Linked DNA regions of Homo sapiens: region 2 is linked to region 1. Evidence: promoter capture Hi-C in 16 types of primary human blood cells and fetal thymus (Javierre and others, 2016). All regions are on one chromosome and are shown on one strand. Each heading gives the region's core, a stretch centred on a gene start or on the middle of the fragment in contact. The rest is flanking DNA. Distances are from core to core; before and after follow the strand shown.

Evidence for each region. Contacts are between HindIII fragments. The CHiCAGO score rates a contact against its expected background, and 5 or more counts as called.
Region 2: a fragment that was not itself captured here is called in contact with the fragment with the promoter of LPCAT1 in region 1 in 1 of 17 cell types (total B cells); the score reaches 5.3 in total B cells.

Annotation. Positions count from the first base shown.
Region 1 is chr5:1,519,742-1,527,683 of GRCh38, reverse strand. It overlaps LPCAT1 (lysophosphatidylcholine acyltransferase 1), which reads left to right and starts at 3,724. Exons shown (of 14, transcript NM_024830.5): 1 at 3,724-3,974. The coding sequence starts at 3,840. RefSeq lists a cis regulatory region at 2,332-2,567, silencers at 3,337-3,736, 3,757-4,066, 4,337-4,536 and an enhancer at 5,697-6,201. The HindIII fragment of the contact is 5,602 bases long and covers 572-6,173 here.
Region 2 is chr5:1,399,307-1,407,248 of GRCh38, reverse strand. SLC6A3 (solute carrier family 6 member 3) reads left to right here. Exons shown (of 15, transcript NM_001044.5): 12 at 961-1,061; 13 at 4,160-4,327; 14 at 6,263-6,334. Among named protein-coding and RNA genes, the nearest start is that of LINC01511, 23 kb to the right of the region's middle. RefSeq lists an enhancer at 1,207-2,406. The HindIII fragment of the contact is 1,438 bases long and covers 3,433-4,870 here.

The DNA of each region.
Region 1 (7,942 bases), core at 2,475-4,974:
CAGAAGGAGCTTCAGGAACCCTTCTTTCTGTTCATGCTGGAAGTGGACCCACAAGTGGGAGTCTGTGATTGATACGTGGTGTTGAGAATATCAGGTCTCCATGCAGAGAAAAAAATCTTCAAATAGAATAAAATGCAACCATGAAAGGCAGAACTGAAAAAAGATGTTAGTAGAAAATGAAGGAGAATATCTTTTTCTATCCTATAGATAACTCTAAAATTCAAAAATTAAACAAACAAAACAAAAATACTCAGCCTTACCAGAACAAGCAGGTACCTTGTGTTCTCAATGCACTTGGAGTATAGGAAACACTTCTCTGTGAGCTTACACTCTTAAAACAGAGACAAAACCAGAGCAAGAAGCCTCAGGGGTGTGGTTACCAGCCCCAGGGAGCTGTGGGGGGCTTCCAGGAGGTTCCTGAGAACCACAGTGGGGGCTCCCTTTGTAGCTAAAGGGCCCTTAGGGTGGTTTTCCCAAAACTAAGTCCTAATGAGAAACTCATGTTTCCCCTGCTAGACAGAGAAAACTGCTTATACCTCCCCACCCAAGACCAACTTCTCTTAGTCAAGCTTCCAGACCCTCCAGGTCTTAAGAACGTTCCATTACATAGCAGAACCAAAGCCTAAGTGTGAAGGCCCAGTGTGGGTGGAGGAATTTCCTTGCTGCTCCTCCACGCTTGCGCTGATTTCCCCATAAGCAGCCCCTCTCCCCCACCCCTCGCAGTCCCCAGGAGAAAACTGACTCCCACACACAAGAGTGCCCCAGCTCCCCACCCCCTGGGCACGTGCCCTGTGGACCATCCAACCCCTTCCAGCTGCAGCAGAGAAGGAGTCCCCGCTCCGGGCCCCAGGCCTTTCCTTCCTCTGAGCGCAGAATCCTTCCAGACTGAGATGGGCCCATGACACCCCCTCTCACAGGGGTTTTCAACGTCTCCTGTGAGGCTGGCCTGTTGCCTTCCACCCAGGAACATGTCCTGGGCCCCTTCCTTGAGCTGCTGCCCTGGATCCCAGCCTCCCGCCAAGCATCCATTTTCCTCCTCCTGCCCATCACGCTTCCTCCTTTCTCAGGTAGCTGGGAAAGAACCTCTGTAACTCCTGCCCACTCCACAGCACCCTGCAGGGTGGTGGTCTCCACCCTTGCTACTACCACTGGCTGGCCTTCCCAGTTCTCTCCTGGCCAGTCCTCCTGGATGGGGCAGTTCCGTGGACTCAGCCCCTCTGGGGACCTCCGCTCCTTGGCCGCTCTCTGGGGCCTTCTTGGGTTCTGCTTGGTGAGGACGAGTGTGCCCCAGTCCTGCCCCCTGCTCTGCACAGCCCTTGGCCCTGTCACACCCACCCTCCCAGCTGTGCCCCCTTGTGTACTGACCCCGGAGCTGGGCCTCTGCGCCTCCTCCACATGGTGCCTGTGACCCAAGGATCCACTGAGCTTCTACACCAAGGCCACGCTGCCCACAGTGGCTCCACCTAAGACCCCTCTGGGAGAGGGACTCCTCTTTCCACCGACCTTGGCTCAAGGACAACCTGCTGACCCTGCTTAGATTGCCGGGCAGTATGAGGTTCTTCCCCCAGCCTCCCCACCTCCTTCCCTGGGTTCCAACTCACTTTGCACTCTGCAGGTTAAAGCAGAAGGAATTTATTCTCTCCCAGTCTGGAGGCCAGAAGCCTGCGATCATGGCACCCTAGGCCTAGGCTCCCTCTGAGAGCACTAGAGAGGACCTGCTCCAGGCCTCTCCAGCTCCTGGGAACTGCTTGCCTGTAGCAGCAGAACCCTGGCCTTCCCATGGAGCTCTCTCTGTGTCTGTCTCTGAGACCGAATCTCCCTCTCTATAGGGACACAAGCCATTTCAGACTAGGGCCCACCCTAATGACTTCCTCTTAACCTGATCATCTGCAAAGACCCTGTTTCCAAATAAGGTCGCGGCCACAGGTGCTGTGGGTTAGGACTTTTGCATCTTCTGGGGACACAGCCATGACTCTCTGGCAGCTCTCCCCATTGAATCTGGCTCTGCACCATCTCCAGCAGGTTTCCCCTCCGCCACACACCGCTTCCTGGCCTGTGCTTCTGGGAGGACCCCACTTTCATGGCTCTCCAAGTCCAGTCCTGAGGCTGCTCTCATCCCAGGACTGGGACACCCTAGGGCCCCTCCTCTCCAGAGCACTCAGGCAGCAGGTGGGGCCGCCTGGATCGCTGGGGTGCAGGTGCTGCCCTGTGGCTGGCAGGCTTTGTGTCCTGGGCTTTCTTGATGATCAGTTCGGTGAGGAGCCTTGGGTGGCCTCGGGTGCTGGGCTCTGGTTTTGGGGATCAGAGCAAGTGGCCACTAAAAGCCCAGGAGGTGGGTGCAACGCTGGTGGCTGGGCCACAGAGCCACCAATGCCCACCAGCACACAGGGCTCACCCCATCCCCGTGGGTGTGGCACTTGGGACAGGTGCTGCTGCTAGGCATGGGCTGGGACTCTTATGGGGCAGGAATATGGGCTGGGACTCTTATGGGGCAGGAATAAGGCCATGCAGCGGGTCTGGCCTGCCGGGGCCTTCTCTGTGCATGATATGTGGATGGCACAGACCCCTGGCCCTCACCCCGGTCTCAGACACAGAAGGGTCTCTGCCAGCCCGCTGCACTATGAGGTCCACAAGGGCGCAGGCAGGGTCATTGGAGGGGTCGGGGCACTCCCTGGCGTCTGCTGAGGATGGGGCCCAGCTGGGGCCAACACAGCAGTGACATCCCCAGGAGCCAGGACCCTGGGGGGTTGGCCAGGTGGCCCAAACCGGCTCTGTCTGGGTGAGGTCCGTTGGCCATGAAGGAACCAACAGGGCCAGCCGGGGTGAGGAAGCCGTGAGCACTGTGACCGAAGGCCTGCGTGAGTTCTGAAATCCAAGCGTGTTCACCCGGAGGCAGGAGCCCATCCTACTCTCGCTCCGGCTAATTATGGGCCCCACCCTGGGGCTCCTCACACGGCTCCTGAGCACCACAAGGGCAATGCCCGAGCCAAAGCAGCTACGGGTGAGAAAGCGCTGGGATCTCATCGCAGCCCCTGCACAACCAGCACGGACAGTCAGGGCCCCTATGTGCGCCTCCTGCCTGGGCCATCCCTGCGGGGCCTGAGGCCTGAGAGGTCCTGAGATCGGAGGGGTCCTGAGGTCTGAGGGGGTCCTGAGGCTTGAGGGGTCCTGAGATCTGAGGGGATCCCGAGGTCTGGGGGGTCCTAAGGTCGAGTGGACCTCAGGCGGGAGTCGCCTGGGCTGAGGCGCGGCTGGAAGAAGCTCCCTCAGCCCGGGGCAGCTTCCAGGGTCGCCGGTGCGAGCTAGGAGCCCAACGAATAAGAAGAATGGCGTGGGGCCTTCGCCGGAACAGCCCGGGGCTCGGCACCCAGGGCCTGGCCCGCCTTGCGCGTAAGCTGGACGCGTGCCCGCCCCTTCCTCCCTCCCCGCGAGCAGGCGGGCCGAGCGGCGGAAGGGGACGACGTGGCAGCCTCGCGGGCCCGGGGGACCTCCCTTTCTCCTGGCGCAGACCCTGCCGGGGATCCCTGTGCTCCAGTGGCTGCAGGAGGCGCCCCCGGTCCCCAGCGGCCCCGGCCCCCCACAGACCCCAGAGAAACCACCAGGTAGCGGAACTCCGGCTGGTGCCGCCCCTGCCGGCCGGCGGGAGGCGAGGCTTCCAGGGACGCCCCGCCCCGGCCGGCGCTCCCGCTCCGCCCACGTCACCTCCCGCGCCTGCGCGCCCGGCCCGCTCCAGCCGCCGCGCATCCTCGGCCCGCGCCCCGAGACCCGCGCCCAGCTAGCCCCGGCCCCGCTCGGCGCCCCAGGCAGCTCGGCTGCGCTCGCCGCGGGACGGCGCGGCCATGAGGCTGCGGGGATGCGGACCCCGGGCCGCCCCTGCCTCCAGCGCAGGGGCCAGCGACGCTCGGCTGCTGGCGCCCCCGGGGCGGAACCCCTTCGTGCACGAGCTGCGCCTCAGCGCCCTGCAGAAGGCCCAGGTGGGTGCCCAGGGCGCGCGGCCCCGGGAGCCGGCGCGGACGCCAGGGATGCTGGGGCCAGGGAGGCGCGGCCGAGGAGGGGCCGGGGAGGGGGCCTGGGGCGCGGCGCGGCCCTGCGAGCCGCGGCGCCTTCCCTCCCCGCGGCCGCCCCTCAGTTCGCGTCCCCGCCGCCCGCACCCGATGCCTCGGTCTCGGCGCCGGCTTCCCGCCGCCCGCACGCGCATCCTGGTCCCTCAGCGCCTTCCTCGGGGTCCCCGCTTCCCATCCCCGCCCCGCGTTCTGCTCCTCCCCCCAGACCCCTGCACCCTGAACCGGGCCCACAACCCTTTCTCTGCCTCCCAGAGCCCCGACCTCGGCTCCCGCGGGAGGCTGGACCCGCATCGCCGGTCCCCGCGCTCGTCCCTGGTCCGGGCCCCGCCCGCCTTGGCAGGCCCTGCGCGCAGCCCGGGGACTCCGGAGCGGCTTTGCCTGGACGCGGCCCGCGGGCGGGAGGGCACCGCGGCTCTGGGTGAGCCTCGTGTGCGGGGCCTGGTGGTGCCCGGGACAGGGCGCGCGGGCGGTGCGGGTCCCCTGTAGGGTCCCCTGTAGGCGCACGGGTCTCCCTGCTCTGCGGCCGCACGTTGCCTTCTGGGGTGCATGCTTCGCTCCTGTTGTAAGGGATGCTTTCTCGGGGCTGGTCTGACCCGAATCAACTTTATGCAACCTGGGCTGCCACGTGGGAGGGAACGGTTTGCTGAGATCCTGCGATGGGACAGTGGTGAGGGGAGACCCGGGGGCGTCGTGGGGAGGGGGCCGCTCGCTGCAGGAAGCTGCACCGGGGATGTGCTGGCTCAGCCTGGCTTTTCCGGCTACCTGGCTGCCAGCTGGGCTTACAGTTACCTGAGATCCACTCTCAAGAGGACCTTACTTTTGACTCTAGAATAATTCCTAGAAGCAAGCACTGTTTCGGGGCCTATGGGGCTGTCCGGTTTGTAGGGAGCACGCTTCCAATTGTGAGAATAGATTTCCGGGAAGATGGAGATTTGTTAATGCATAAAGTACTTTATCTGAAAGAACCCTGAAGTGAAAAGTTCTTGAGGCCAGTTTGAGCTTGTCATTTTCCCAGGACGCCTGCTTTTGCTCAAAGCCCCTTGATGCGGCTGGTCCTCAGGGTATGGAAGGGGACGGGGAGCAGGAGAGCCCGATGGTGCCGCCCCTCCTGGTGACACACAGGGTGAGGTCGTCCCCAGCCTGGCTCCCAGGCCCTGGCCCCCGTCTCCCTGTGTGTCGGGAGCTGGACTCTGGGGCTGGGGCGGTGCCGGCCCCTCTGCCGCCGCTCTGCCTGGCCCTCTGTCTGCCACACGCTGTCAGCTGCCGTGTGCTGTGCCCCTCAAAGGAGGACTTGGGACACGGTCGCTCATTCTGTGCCCCTCAACCATTCCTCCTCTTCAATCCTCACCCCCACCCAGCCACCAGGCTCTCTCCCTGGTCACTCTCCCTGAGTCACTCCCAGCAGGCTTTCTTCCTCCTGCACTCTGCTGCTCGGAAGCCCTCAGCGGGGACGCCCCCGGATGAAATTCGAACCCCTGCTGTGGTTTCCAGGGCTTCCCCAGCCCTGCTCCTGCCCCAGCTATGGCTGCCTCAGGCATGCTCTCTCTTCCTGCCTTTCCTACTCCCTCCTGGCTCCCTGGGGGGAAACATCAAGCCCCTCCCTGGAGGTCCCCGGAGGCCACTTCGTCATCCCTGTCATAGTTGCAGCCCCCGGTTGAGGTGTGTTCTGTCCAAAAGTGTGCACCCACTGCCCTGGCGAGAAGCAGGGCAGAGACTCTCATGGGTAGGTACAGATGTCAGGGCACTGCCAGAGTGCCCAGAGGGGCCTGCTTTCCTCCCCGAGACCTCAGGGTGCAAGCTGCTCCCAGTGGCTCTTGGGCAGGGGGTCATCGAGAGGCTCCTGGTCCCGAGATTGAAGGCTTTGGGCAGCTGTTCTCCCTTGGGCCGAAGCCAGGCAGAGATCCTGGCTTGAGGTGTTGGGGCCTCTCAGAGAGGGGGCTTGCTTTGTTGCCACTTCAGAGGTTCCATCTGAGGAATTAGGTGTGTTTGTACATCCAGTCGTTTCTGCTGGATGTCTGCAATGTGTGGCTCAAGGGTTTAGTTTGTAAACGTTCTCAAAGTTCTCTGCAGAAACATTTTGCTTTTCACCAAGCATTGCTTTGCAAAGCTTTTACTTTGATGTGATATATTCTTGTAAAGTTTCCACAGAGTGAAATAGCCTGTCTTTCAAGCCAAGAAAGCCTTCTTCCCCAAAGAAAGAAATGGGTCCAGTAGTGGCTGACACACTCAAGAACCCGCAGAAACCCAGCTAAGTTCCCAGTTGAGATAAACCAGTGAGTACCTGCATTTACCTGTGAGCATTTGCCGCCTGGGAGGGGCTGCTGTGTGTCTTCGGATTAGCGCCATGCGGGGACACCTCCTCCTCCAGCCAGCCCATCTGTCATTTAACTACAGATTTAGTGAGGAGCTTAAGTATCTCTTTGGACAGAAAACAGCACATTAAGATCTGAAAAGAGGTATCAAAGCCATCAGGGTCTGTAATACGTGCAATGTTTTAATCCTCTGGCTAAAGCAAGGATATAGATTTAGTAGAGAGCGGTAAATGGTATGGTACAGGATCTTAGTGAGTTCAGCTGAGGTTCTTCATAGTCACACATTCATATATCGTTTTGGAGTCATGAAGTGGTTTCTGTCACCCAGGGTTTTCTCGGTACTTTCCTTGGAATCTGTGGGTATGAGTATTTCCCACTATGGTTCTGATGCGTTTTCCCCATTTCTTTTTTTTTTCTTTTTCTTTTTCTTTTTTTTTTTTTTTTTTTGAGACAGTCTCTCTCTGTCGCCCAGGCTGGAGTGCAGAGGTGCGATATCGGCTCACTACAAGCTCTGCTTCCCGGGTTCACGCCATTCTCCTGCCTCAGCCTCCCGAGTAGCTGGGACTACAGGCGCCCGCCACAATGCCCGGCTAATTTTTTTTTGTATTTTTAGTAGAGATGGGGTCTCACCGTGTTAGCCAGGATGGTCTCGATCTCCTGACCTTGTGATCCTCCCGCCTCGGCCTCCCAAAGTGCTGGGATTACAGGCGTGAACCACCGCGCCCGGCCCATTTTCCCCATTTCTAAAGTCTCTGCTGCTCGGAACCAGAGTTGGCAAGAACTTACATCCTGGAAAGCATAATGCCTTCCTGTGCACCTTGGAGCTGAGTCCTTGGACGGGCGTTGCTGTCTCAGAGTGGAGGAGGCTGCTGGGTGCCCGCCTGCCCACGCTGGCTAATCCACAGAGAGGATTATGATGAGGGTTGAGTCCAGGGACAGATTCTGCCCCTCCCTGCCTGGTGGCCCTGCATAGAATTTACCCAAAAGTGGGCCATCTTTTTCTCCACATTTTTATACAAATACCTGAGTTGTGATTTTTTAAAAAAACTCAGGAGCAGGACTCCGCCCTCTCAGCCTCGCTCCTGAGTCCAGCATGGCCACTGCAGAACAGGAATTCGTGTGCCTGCACACGTTGCCAGGCTCCTCACGTGGATGGCTGTGTTTGCAGTGTGTTCTTGACCCTTGGTGCCCTCCAGGCACACATGCACGGGGATGGGGGTTCCTCAGGCTTCTCTGAGCTGCTCCTGCTGCCCACTGGGTCCCTGGGTGCTGCCTGCCTGGATTCAGTAAGACTGGCTCTTCGCTCAGCCCCATTGCCGGGCAGTGGATGTGGAGGGGTGGGGTGGGCCAAGGAGCCCTGGGCAGTGTACCCGGTGGGAGCACAGGGCAGCCACACCCTGTGGAGGATGTGCAGGAGAGTGCCTGTCCCTTGGGGAGGATGGAGAAGGCCAGGGCTGTACAGGGCCTGCTGTCTCCCTGGATGCCTCAGAGGCCTTGGAGACGGTGCCAGGCCCATGGCCCCCAGCTGCCTTCTGATGACCTGGGTGTGATGGTGCCAACTGTTTT
Region 2 (7,942 bases), core at 2,902-5,401, 120 kb after region 1:
CGCAAGACTTGCCCCAAATCTCAGCAGATCAGCCGCGGTCACACGAGTCACAGACCAGGCCAGATGTGGGGGGAGAAACCACTCTTAAGGTCTTAGGGTCAGTTCCTAGAAGAAGTTAGATAATACCAGTGAAAGAAAAATATGCATTTCTAAAGTGGACTGCTGGTACTTGCTTTTGGGGAGAAAAAATGTTTATTATGTTTCTAGAAATAGCTTTTCTGAAGACACAGTGACGGTATACTCATGACGGAATATGATTCGGCCTTAAAACAAAAGGGAATGCTGATGTGGGCCGCAGCTTAGGTGGCCTCAGGGACACTCTACAGGGAGTAAACCAGTTGCAGAGGCCCCGTGCCACGTGACTCCACTGACGGGAGGTTCCCACAGGAGTCACATTCATTGAGACAAAAAGCAGATGGTGCTGGGGCCTGGCGGGGGTTGGGGGTCGGGAGGAGTTGGCGTTTCATGAGGGCAGAATTTCATTTTGGAGGATGGAGTTCTGAAGATGGACGGTGGTGACGGTTACACAGTATGTGAATGTATTGATACATTATGAACTCTACACGTAAAAATGGCTAAAATGGTAAGTTTTATGTTATGTGTATTTTACCATAATCTTTTTAAGTGAACAAGAAGTACCAGCAGCAGAGGGAGACAGGGAGAGCCATGGGATGGGGAGGAGGACCCGAGGGGCTGTTGCCGGGGCGCGGGGAGCACCCACCGGGGCACGGCTCTTCCTGGTGCATCTCCAGGGTGGAGCAGGCACGTGGGCTCCCACCCGTCAGCGAGGCACCCAGTGGGCTGGGGTGTGGCCTGGCCTCCTCTGCAGGAGGCTGGGTGCAGCCGAAGCCTGGGGCCGGTAGGTGGGGCCCTTGGGAGTCAGCGAGGACCCCCACACGTGTCCAGCATCGGGGGAATGCGCTGCCCTGATGGACACTGATGCCACCTCTTCTCCCTCAGGTGTTGGGCAGTTCAGCGACGACATCCAGCAGATGACCGGGCAGCGGCCCAGCCTGTACTGGCGGCTGTGCTGGAAGCTGGTCAGCCCCTGCTTTCTCCTGGTAAGGGACCTCGGGCCACCTGCCCTTCCCCCGTCTGCCCACTGCCCCCACTCTGGCACCTGCCCCGAGGTCCAGCGCCCGCATGTGGGTTGTCACTGTGGCTGGAGTCAGGGGCCTCAAGACTCGGCCCAGAAGGACAGGCTGATCCCTGAACTCATCTATAGTCTCCTTAAGGTGGCTTCCACCCTCCCCTCTAGACCCACCGAAAAAACCTCACATGGTCTTGGACCCCTGTCACAGTCCGTTGTGAGTCCTGCACTTGGGCCGCGCCTCTGTGTTGGGAGGGGAAGCTGGAGGTGAGTCGGGCTGTCCACTCACCTCTGCCTGTGAGGATCAAGGTCGAAGTTAGAGCTTCCGGGGCAGTGGGGACAAAGGATGCCGAGTGCTGGATGAGAGCAGCAGGGGCCTCGGCCCTGTCCCGTTGCTCACGCAAGCCTCCCTCTGGCTCAGCAGCATCACTGTGTCCAGTAGGCACTTGCTTCTGTCATCCGCCACCGAGTCAGGGCCCACCGGGCAAGGCCGTCGGACGCTGGTGTTTGTAAATAGAGTTTTGTTGGAAGGTGGCCGCACACTTTCATTAGGGATTGCCTGCAGTGCTTCCCCCACTGAACCACAGAGGCCTGGAGGCTCACAAAGCAAAGCTGTGCTGCCTGATCTGGGCAGGCAACCTAAGAGCTGTCCAAGTCTAAGCAGAGTGTCCCGTGAGCTGCTCACGTAGAGAAGCACCTCCCGAGTCCAGCAGGCACGAGGTGGGGACTGGAACAGGGCAGGGGACTCAGGCCGCACCCTCTCATGGACCAAGGGCTGGTCCCGGAGTCAGCAGGGCCCGCGTGCGTGGAGACCCCTCGTCACCTGCACACAGCAGGTGGGACAGCCCCGTAGTTGCCAGCAGAGGGGTTCCGGGGTACAGGAAAGAGATGAGAGACAGGCCCTATCCCGGAGGAGCTCAACATAGTGTGAGAGAACCTGCCCGGCATCTTGTAGAAATTCCACCGTGTCTGAGCTCCAGGCCGCGTGGTGTGGCTGCACGTAAGTGTTCCAAGTCCAGTTAACTGCGCTTGTGAAGGCTCCCGTTGAAGGTTCCTGGATTCATGGGGCGGGCTTTTAATAGCACACAGACTACATGGCTGTTCAGAGGGGAAAGTGAGGAAGCCCTCCCAGAAAGTCAGCCTCCTGCCCACCTCCCGCTCTCCCCCGCCATTAGTTGAAACTGAGCTGTTTTGCATGAGGACGTTGGCTCCCCTTGAGGGGGTGTCTCCTCTTAACACCCAGAGGGCTGACCTCGATCTTAGGAGATAAAATGTTCTACTGATCTTAGACTAAATCTTCGAACTTCATACAGAAACACACTTCGTAGACTTTTAGATAAAACTACAAACTATACGAAACAGGACTTCATTTTGCCAAGTTGAGAGAAACATGACAATTTCATTGCTCTATGTCATTTTGTATTTAATATGACAGCACAATTCCTATGAAGTTCTGATTTCAGCAGAAACATAACGTCTGTGTTATCATCTGTTTCTTCAGGCTGCGGCATAGTCCCCTGCCCTCTGGCGTGTGCTAACCTCTGGTCGTAAGGGGTGTACACGCCCCAGTCTCGTTCAGATGACTCTGTGGCAGATGATGCCACAGCACTGCTAAAGGGAAATTATGCCGGAGCAAAGGCAACTTACATGGGCAGACTGTGGCCTGGGGAGGCATAGTTCTTTCTAAGAAAGGTGGTATCTAGCAAGAAGTTGAACAATAACAGAGAGCACATTACAGCAATACCTCCATGTCAGATAGGCAAGCCCGACATGTCCAGGGATGCACGCGTGGCTCTTTAAAGCATGCTCAGGGCTCTCTGTGCAGCCAAGGCAGCCGCCCCTGATCCCAGATGCTGCAGGCCACTGGCTTTGCTCGCCAAAGTGCTGCTCACCCTGGCTCTGGTCACGTGACAGACACAACCCCAGCCCCCATCCCAGTCCTCCGCTAGCCGGCTCCAAACCTACAAGTGGCCCGAAGTAGCGCATGAAGAAGATGCTGAGACTGGCATGAGACACGCGTCCAACATGCTTTTCAGGTGGAAGGCTTGGATGTTTTAACTTTTCTGAAATTGAGGAAAAGTGGACAATTGGGAAAAAATTGCATTTTAAGCTACATCATAAACCATATCTATCAGAGCTTCACTTGTGTCCTTGGGAAGGACCCAGGTACACAGAACACATATGTAGGCGTGCAGTACACATGTGGGTGCACAGAACACATTCAGGTGTGAGGTGCATATGTAGGCACATGGAGGATCTTTTTAGATGGTGGTGCATGTTTGTGGAGTGGATGAACAAATGCATGAGCTGCCTCAGGAGAAGCCTCTGGAGAGTGGGAAGCTTCCCCTCCAAGTGGCATCCACCCCACCCTCTGTTACCTTTGTGGTGGTGGTTCTGAGACAGGTCTGTGACTTTATCAGATTTGCTTCTAGAATGAGTAGAGATACGGAGCTCAGATGGCCCTAGGGTGGTCCCGCATGGGTCACAGTTGTGTCTTCAGGCCATGGATGATCATAGATTCAGTGTACTGGGTGGTGGTCAGTTTTGTTTTTGTTGTGATTTCAAGCAAGGAATAGAACAAGGTGGGATACAGCAGGAAGGGATGGGATGGGATGAGATGGGATGGGATAGAGCCGGATGTGATGTAATAGAACAGGATGGGATGGAATAGAACATGATGGGATGGGATGGGAGGGGAGGGGTGGAGAGGGGATAGAACAGGATGGGATGGGAGGGGAAGGGAGGAGAGGGGATGGAACAGGATGGGAGGGGAGGGGAGGGGACAGAACAGGATGGGAGGGGAGGGGAGGAGAGGTGATGGAACAGGATGGGATGGGAGGGGAGGGGAGGGGAGAGAACAGGATAGGACAGGACAGGCTAGATCATGCTTCAGGAGGACATGGCTTGCCCGGGATGCCCAGCTGCCATGTCTGCAGGCCTGGCCGGGGTCTGCACCTGCACAGCTGTGGGGGCTGAGAGACGCTCTGCCATGAAGTGCCTGCCCGCTCCCTGCTTTGTCCTGGCACCGCCGGCTGAGAGCTGCCTGACCTCCGTATCTGCTGGTTGCAGTTCGTGGTCGTGGTCAGCATTGTGACCTTCAGACCCCCCCACTACGGAGCCTACATCTTCCCCGACTGGGCCAACGCGCTGGGCTGGGTCATCGCCACATCCTCCATGGCCATGGTGCCCATCTATGCGGCCTACAAGTTCTGCAGCCTGCCTGGGTCCTTTCGAGAGGTGGGTATTTGGACGGGGCGCCTTCACCCGAGTGTGAGGCCACCAGAAAGGCTCCGTGGGTGTCCATGGCCCCAGTCCTCACCTGCCTGGGTCATCTGTGACCAAGAGGAGGAGACTGGAGGTGGCCACCACAACACTGTGTGTGTGTGTGCGTGTGTGTGTCCACCTGCACGCCCGGGCCCATGGGTGTGCGTCCATATGTGTATTCATGTGTGTGTCTTTAAGTATGTCCACATGTCTGTGTGTGTCTGTGTGTGCATGTGTCTGTGTGTGCTTGTGCCTGTGTGTACATCCACTGTATCTCTGTGTCTGTATGTGCTGTCTCCGTGTGCACGTGTGTGTGGGCCTGGGTCTGTGCTCACATTCGTGTCCAAGTGTTTGTGTGTACTGAGTGCATGCATGCCTACACACTATGGTATGTGGTGTGGTGGACACAGAAGCCATCTGAGGGCGGTAGAATCAGGGGTGATCTAGGTCCCCCCAGGGCCGAGCCCAACTTTGGCTGAACAGGGGCAGCTGGAGCCCCAGGCAGTGGAGGAAGCTTTGCGGAGTCACTGATATGCATCTCCTTTCTTCTGCTTGGTTTTGCCGCCTTTGTGTAGAAGAAAGGCAGGTGGACCAGTCACAGGGCCCTGTTTAACACCCTGGCTCTGTGGTTCCAGGAAGAGACAAGGACACTCCCTCCTTGGAAGAGGGTCGCCCTCACCTGAGATCCCACCACTGGGAACTCCCGGAAGCTGCTTCCTCAAATCCCAGCCTTTCTCAGAAAGAAGTCGCTTGGCCCTGGGCATCAAAACCCCAGAGCAGCACCAGCTGTGTTCAAGGATTCCACCTTAGGGCCACACGGTGTCCCCTGGGCTCAGACATGTGGCAGATGCTCTCAGGCTGGCACTGAGCCAGTCTCTCCAGCAGCCTGGCCAGGCCAAGGCCCAGTGCAGGCAAAGCACAGTGTGTGGCTGGGGGCTTCTGTGGAGTGGGAGGAGCTCTGGGGCTGCCATGGCCCCAGGAAAGCTGATGGCACCCTGCTGTGGACAGTCCCTCTCAGACCCCCACGGGCTGACCTGCCAGGACCCAGCACAGGGGAAGAGCAGGCAGCCGGGCAGTCTCTGCAGGGAGAGAGCTCCTCTGGGAGGCTGGATGGACGTGGGAGGCGGGGCCCAGGTCAGCGCAGAGCTGGAGGATGCCTACAGCCCGGCGGACCTGAACAGCCAGCGCCCTTACCCCTCGCATGGCCAAACTCTGAACGTAAGCCAAGTAAAACCTCAGCAGCTGAGCCAGGTACAAGTGGAATTGTGGTGATGACGTGGGGTGGGGCCACGCACAGGGGTCCCTGTGAGAGGTCACCTGGCCTCAGAGATCCAGATACAGGCATCCAGGCCCGAGAGGGTGAGCTCCTGAAGATGCTGCCTGCTCTGGGAGGACTTGGTGCTGTCCAGGCCCCAGGAGCTGCCGCAGCGGGCAGTGGAAGGAAGGCACGTTCAGCGTTCACTCTCCCAAGAGCTGCAGGTGACAAAAAGCAAGTGCTCCCGGAATATGTCAGCTGCAGGTGGCCCCGAGGCAGCCCACCTGGGTGTGGGCACTTTCTTACTCAGAGCCCAGCACACGTGGTAGCTTAGACTCAAGAGCCATCTCCAGGACCACGTTTTATTTTCAAGCGAGTGCTCAAATGCTGATGTTCTGCTCTGCGCTAGACTTTAAGGGGACCGTCAGGATGTTGGCTTCGGGCCTGACTGGCTGTCTGGTCGGCATGGGCACTGGCAGTGTAAGTCAGTGGTGGGCGCTGGTGATATGGATGCCAGCGGGTGGGCATTGGCAGGTGAGGAGGGCTGGTGGTGAGGGTGCTGGTAGGTGAGGGTCCTGGCAGTGTGAGTCAGTGGTGGGTGCTGGCAGTGGGTACTGGTCTGCACTGACCCCTGCACTCTCTTTCTCTTTCAGAAACTGGCCTACGCCATTGCACCCGAGAAGGACCGTGAGCTGGTGGACAGAGGGGAGGTGCGCCAGTTCACGGTGAGGTCGAGGTCCCTGCTGGGCCTCTCTCGGGGGAATTCAGAATGATCCCAAGCTCAGTGTTCTTAGCCCCCAGGGGGCTCCGAGGCTGGTGTAGATGGTGCTCATTTACTCAGCCAGCATGTGCTCTATGAGGACAGGCAGCCAGTGGTGGCAGGTGACAGTGGAGACGTGTGCCCGGGACGGGGGGCACATGACGCAGGGGCCCTGGGAGGTGCGGCTGCACAGACGCCTGAGGAAAGCATGGTCCCTGCAAAGACCTGGGCATGTCCCAGACCACGGGAGCAGTGCCCTGTGGGGCCAGCTGAGCCAGGTTAAGGACCAGCAAGGGACCACCACCCCCCGCCTCACGGGGGCACAAGGGACAGTGCCAGGAGGGGAGGCCTGGGCCTGGCCATGGGAAGCCACAGGGAGCCCTGGAGGGGCTGGGAGAGGCCTGGGAGCCTGGGGCTGGCTTCGAGTGAGAGGATGGTCACGCCAGGTGTTTCCTGCACCCTGGGAGCCATCCAGCTGTGTGCGAACATGTTCATGACATGCCGTGGAGCAGGTGCATTCCCGGGGGCACACAGTAAACACTTGACGTGTTTTTACTCCCACAACCCTAAGAGGCAGCCCAGCACTCTCTCTACACCAGGGTCCCTGAGACCCAGAGAGGCCCCGGAATGTGCCCAAGATCACAGAGCTGGCCAGCAGGAGAGGAGCCTGGGCTGTGCCCTGGGCCTGTGGCACTGTCCTCCTCCACCCCAGAGTGGCCTCAGCCCCGACCTGATTCCATACACTAATGTCAGCCTAATGCCGACAGCAGAGTCCAATGCACAGCAAAAGGGAGAGAAGGCCATAGTGTGGAGGGCACCGCGGCCCCACCTCGGACCTGCCTCTTCCCTCTGGCCACCTCTCTGTGGCTGGTTCTCGTAAACAGTCCTCCCAGCAGGGGTCTCATGAGCTCATGCCTGAGGAGCCCAGCATGGACCTGCACATGGGGCAGGAGCAAGGATACAGGCAGAGGGAGGGGGCTCTGCGTGCCTGGGAGGTGGGTGGTGACGTCAGGCAGAACAAGACGCTGAGCAGGGAACAGGCCGGGAGGCAGTGGGGAGAAGCCGCCTCTGAGCACACATCTGCACAGCTTGTTCCTCCTACCTGCAAGTCAGGTTCTGGTGTGGGCTCTGCCTCCCTCCGTTGGCACCCTTTCCTCTGTCCTCCCAGTGACTTGCCTGCTCCAAACACAGGAGGCGTGTCCAGGCATCCCATCCCATCCATCCAGAGGATGCCAGCCCCTCCCCACTGGGCCTCCGGTCCTGCTCCACCAGAGCCTCTCTCCTCTGAGAGTCCTATACCTGGGGGTCTTACACTTTGTACAGGATCTTGCTAGTCTTCTCAAATATCCAACTTTGACTTCATGTGAGATTCTTGCTGTGCTTCCTGTCACATTAATCTCAGCTCCTGTATTTATCATTTCTTCCTCTCTTTTTCTTGGATCTACTCTGTTGTAGTTTTGCTAACTTTTTAATTTGGACTTTAGGTTATTAATTTGCATCCTTCGTTCTTTTCTAATGTAAGCACTCAAGGCTATGAATTTCCCTCAAAATACTCCATGTGCTACATTCCGTA